Linked DNA regions of Homo sapiens: region 1 is linked to region 2. Evidence: promoter capture Hi-C in human tissues and cell types (Jung and others, 2019). All regions are on one chromosome and are shown on one strand. Each heading gives the region's core, a stretch centred on a gene start or on the middle of the fragment in contact. The rest is flanking DNA. Distances are from core to core; before and after follow the strand shown.

What was found. Contacts are between HindIII fragments. The study calls those that stand out against the background at their distance.
Region 1: a fragment that was not itself captured here is called in contact with the fragment with the promoter of RNF6 in region 2 in 2 of the 25 tissues and cell types used here (dorsolateral prefrontal cortex and hippocampus).

Annotation. Positions count from the first base shown.
Region 1 is chr13:26,587,589-26,590,288 of GRCh38, reverse strand. The region is part of intron 1 of WASF3 (WASP family member 3); the gene reads right to left. Among named protein-coding and RNA genes, the nearest start is that of WASF3, 31 kb to the right of the region's middle. The HindIII fragment of the contact is 3,775 bases long and covers 1-2,700 here.
Region 2 is chr13:26,221,053-26,223,752 of GRCh38, reverse strand. It overlaps RNF6 (ring finger protein 6), which reads left to right and starts at 1,439. Exons shown (of 5, transcript NM_005977.4): 1 at 1,439-1,750; 2 at 2,423-2,505. RefSeq lists enhancers at 1,379-1,758, 904-1,785, 1,786-2,667 and a silencer at 2,209-2,258. The HindIII fragment of the contact is 8,375 bases long and covers 1-2,700 here.

The DNA of each region.
Region 1 (2,700 bases), core at 52-2,551, 370 kb before region 2:
ATAACTAAAAATACCACAAATTTTACTTTTTTCTCTGTGATTTAACAGGTGTTGGGGGGGCCTCTCAGCAGAGGGTCACGAATAAAAAATTAACAGGATGGAAATTAGCGCGATGGGAAATGAAAGCATCCAGGCTTCAAACCAAGAACATTCTGACAATGTCTTACAAACTGAGGACTGACAAAGCATATTAATGAGAAATACTGTTAGAATGCTATTCAGATATGGGTCTTCAGTTGCAGCTTTCCAAAAGAATTGGTTTCAAAGGGGAAGGGGAAGTTACACATAGAAAAGCAAAAGCATGTTCATGTTTTCCATTCCTTCCTGTACACTGAGCTCATGAGGTGAACCTTCTTCTGCCCTGGCGTAAGTCCAGCAATGGGGGGTGGCCATTCAAGAAACTAACACAAGAAGCAGGACAGCACTGCTCACTAACATTAAAATCTACAGATACATCTAGTCAAATTGAGTATGTTTACCTCTGTTCAAAACAATCCAAAGCATGAGGTCTAACATTCCCTCAGAGGCAGAAGGTATCCTACACCCCAAACTACACTAACAGCATTATCTTTTATTTTATTTTAAGTTCACACATAAATCTGCCAAACTCTGTTGTGCTTTGGAGAAATAACTAAAGAAAAGCTTTAAATACTAGATATAGTCAAAAATCATTCTAAAAGTATTAACATGGTACCAATTTTATTCTTAACATTCAACTAAAGCCAAAACAGCAAGACTCCTCAAACAAATGCATCTATTGACGATGCCACATCAGGCTTGCATCACTAAACCTCAGTAAGACTTTACCACTTGCCTACATAAGTCACTTTCTAAGCCATATGGTTGCCCATCCCTGCTGGGCTCAATTTGCAGTAAAGTTCTGATATCTTGCAATCACAGCAATTCCCAACATGACACCCTGTTCAGTGGCCACTTCTTCCTTCAATGCTCTCCAGGCACTGCCCCCTCCACTCCACATTACCCAGTTCTGAGAGGAACCATTTTTAGTGCTAAACTTCATGTCTGATAGAACAAGTTGAAACTTCTTCCAAACTAATACTCTCACAAAATGCCCCACAGTCTACCTATTTGGTTGAACAAAAACAGAAAGGAACGAAGTAACTATCCATCTACTGAGTATTTGAAAAGCAGACATGGAAGAATGCTCAACCTCAAGCAATATAAAGAAATACAGGGCCAGGCACAGTAGCTCGTGCCTATAATCCCAGCACTTTGAGAGACTGAGGCAAGAGGGTCATTTGAGCCCAAGAGTTTGAGACTAGCCTCGGCAACATGGTGAAACGCCATCTCTACCAAAAAAAAAATAGCTGGGTGTGGTGGTGTGTGCCTGTGGCCCCAGCCACTTGGGAGGCTGAGGTGGGAGAATCACTTGAGCCCAGGAGGTCAAGGCTGCAGTGAGCCATAATCATGCCACTGCGCTCCAGCCTGGGTGACAGAGTGAGACTGTCTTAAAAAAATAAATAAATTATAGAAGAAATACAAATTAGAGCTGCAATGCCATACCATTTTAACTTGTTAGATGAGCAAAGATTAAACATATGAAAAATCCCGGTGTTGGCCAGGATGGGGAGGGACACAGGTACTCTCTGACACTTTACTGGAGGAAGTAAACTGTTACGCATTTTAAAACTACAAAACGTTCGACAAGATCAAATTAGAATCCAGAAGAAAAATATATACACATTTCCTAAAATGTAATCTGTGATGATAACTGAAACAGAAGCCGATTTGGGGATACTATTTGACTTTGGTAAAAACACAAGTAAGGTTTAATCTCTTACCCCAACCTCCTGGCCACAGCTGACTGAATGGGGACAGACACTACCTAAAATGGGCCAGGTTTCCCTCCCAGAAATCTGGAATTGGGACTCTGTGGTTCTGATTTGGTCTGGTCATGTTGTGTTTTTAAACAGTGAAAACATAAACCTCACATCACATTAAGTTATGCTGCCTCTATTTCCATTTAGCATACAAACAAACAGCATTTGAGGATTCAATAAACCAACTCCCACTCTGAATTTTTCAGACTTACACTCTAGGGTTATTTTTTGCTTATATTCTTGTTTTTCCTAACCTTCCTTCTCATCTTTCTGATTTGAAGAATAGTAATTTCTATCAGCTTATCTGATTTATCACATTTACTTCTGCTTAAGAACATTATTTACAGTTATTTAATAGACTGAGTCTTGTGTAACTAGAGTCAACCAATTCCAAACCTTGCCCTCTACTTCAGAATATTATTCTTGATGGGATTATGGAGTTGCTGGTAAACTTTTCTTTAGGATTTGGTTTTGGATTTTTTAGTCTTTTTTCTTTTTAAGTCCTATAGCAATCATAAATCAATGAATTCTCAATGTAACTTTCCAAAAGAGACAAAAAAAACTTTTGGTCTCTTCATTTTAAAAACTCATTTTAATTTAATAGTGACTGACATTCACCAACAGATGAAGACCAATTTTTCCTCTTCATTTGTTCCATTATTTTCCAATTTGTTACAGAATTATACAAGCTACAGACTGATGTGCCCTTCAAAATGTCAAGTTTGACTTTAGAGAATTACCACCCCCTTGATTGTCTTCTCCCATGAACCCATCATTCTGTCCAGCAGCTCTCAATCTAGCAACACTCAAAAAGCAAAGAAGATATACATCCTTATTTCAATCATAATAGTCAATTATG
Region 2 (2,700 bases), core at 190-2,689:
CATGGGAAAAGAGGGCAAGGACTTCATTCTATGAGGACATGACTGTCTGATTCACGGCTGTCATCACCAGCACCTAATACATAGTCACACTCACTATTTGTTAAATACATGAATACATGCTAAAATAGGGTTTTATATATAGAGGGAGTATGGGAGCCCCCAAAAGGGACATTTGCTTAGTTTTATGTGTAAATATCGGGCTGGAGGGTGAGGTAAGGGTGTTATTTCAGAGGTATCAGGAAAAATTCCTTAAAGATGAGAACTGAGCTGAGTTTTGGGAGACAGAGGAAATTAGGTAAAAGTGGAGTTGGGGGTTGCTTAGGAGTTCCCATATCTTGTGGCGGAACTTCAAGCAGTTTCGGAGTGCCAAGACAACAGCCTGTAAATGTAAGCAGAAGAAAGATCTGGAAGGGCTTTCTAGGCTGTTTTATATATTTCCATTTTAGTATCCATATCCATATGCTTATTTTAAACACTTGTCCATAGATCCTTACTACACTGGTAGCTCATTGATGCTAAGGACTGCATGTAGCTTGTTATCCAGGTGCCCAGCATAATAATGGGGATATGGTAGTTCCTCAAAAGTTAATGCAGAAATGAAAGAACAAACGGAAGAATAACAAGTAACGGCATTGTGAGCACTCTCCAGTGATGAAGTCATCAGATGGTAGGGATGTCAGGAAAGGGGACTATACCAGGTTAGACAGAGACCTACTCAGCATCTTAACTAACGGTGAGGTAAGTTTAGTAAGCCTCACATCTCAGAAATAAAATCAGAGGGAGGAATGTTGGGAGTTTCAAACTGCTTTCCTAGCGGGAAGGTGAAAAAACACAAAATATAGTGGGGTGCGGTGCCTCATGCCTGTAATCCCATTTTGCTGAGGTGAGAGGATTGCTTGAGGCCGAGTACGAAACCAGCCTGGGCAACATAGCGAGACCCCCGTCTCTACAAAAGAAAAAATGTGAAATTAATGGCAAGCGCCTGTAGTTCCAGCTACTGGGATGAGGAGGGAGGATCGCTGGAGGCTGCAGTGAGCTACGATCGCTCTAGCCTGGGCGACAGGATGAGACCTTGTCTCAAATAGAGATAGACAGACAGACAGACTTCAGAATTTATTAGGGTTTGTAATTTCCAGGTTCCAAAGCACAGCAAGGGAAAGGGCCTGGCTGGGTAGTACGTTACACCCGGAAGTAAAGAGACGCATACACCGTTGGGTGCACTTTATAGTCTGGCTGGCAAACGAGCGACACCGACGCGCAGAGTTAAGTGCTGGGACTTCCCAAGCCTGGAAAGCAGACCGTGTCTCTGCAACTACGCGGCTGCCACGAGCGCTGAGCGGCCGGGCATTTGGCCTCGAGGAGGAGGCACTGTAAGGGCGGCGCAAGAGGGCGGAACGCGGGACGCCAGGCACCCTAGCTCCCGACGGACGCAGTTTTCAGTTGCACGGGCGAGCTCCGGGCCGGCTGCGGAGCGACTCCCCGCCGCCAAGTGGGCGGCGTGGCTGTCGGGAAAGAAGGGCTGGGGCCTGCCGTTCTTCCTCCCGAGTATCCCCTCCAGCTGGACGACCCCACGCTGCAGCACGGGCTTCCGGCTTCTCTCCTCAGTGGCCAATTCGAGGGCACAGCGGGCTCCGGAGGCGCGGCGGCAAGCCTATCCCGCCTCCCAACCACAGCCTCCAGCACCCGAGAGAACGGCCGCCCACAGCACACGTTCTCCGGACAGGAGGGCGAAGGCCCAAGACCTGGAGAGGTGGGCTCGAGGGAAAGATCTGGGTCCCACCACTACTTCCTGGAGACGCCGGGGAAAGCAGGCCATCCTTCGAGCCACCCATCTCTTCTCCGATTGGTTAACTGCCTTCTTATTGCGCTCCGCTGGCTGGTGATTGGTTGGGATGCACCGTCTATCACCTGCTTCCTTGTGAGAATCTAGGTCTCTAAGGGAAGCGTTACTTGAGGCTCGGTTGGGAAGAGGTTGGTTGGGCCTCTTGAGCCCACTTTATTTATCGTAGTGGGGATCGTCCCCCGGCGCGAGCTTCCGTCGCAACGGCCGGGAAAGAAACCAGTAGCGGGACGGAGGGCGGGGGTGGCAAGAAAGTCAAGGTTTAGAAGTAAGCCGGAGACGCCTAACCCTGGTAACATCCGAATGGGAACGGGATAGGAAGGAAGGCCTTTGAGAGAGGAGGCGTAAACCCAGGAACAGTGACAGTGTAGGACGAAAGGCCTAAGTTTGTTGCGGAAGGTAGGGGCCTTGCGGGAGGTTTTCGTGACCTAATTGTATGGGGATCTAATTTTCTAGATGTGTCTAACAAAATCCACTGGAGAATTTGCTTTGGCTTTGCAGCAGAGTGGGGAGACTACCACCCGTTCCTGGCCTTTAAAGAAACAGTTTATTGAATTATTCAACTCTCTTTTATTGCTTCAGATGGGCAGCTCTCAAAAAAGGCACAAACAATTGAAGGATGGATACCATGGCATATGTTAAAAGCGTGTTGAAAGGAAAATAAGGTATTCGCTTTGTTTTCATTGTGATTAACTGTATAAGAAAATTACCTTTAAGGAGAAGCTCAAGTTTTAAATAATATTAGGGTAACTTGATTTTATGATAGGCTTCAACTTGTAAAATTATTTATTACAAAAATCCTATTATTGCTGTACCTACGAAATATGCTCTTTGCTAATTATGGTCTTAATCTGAAGATA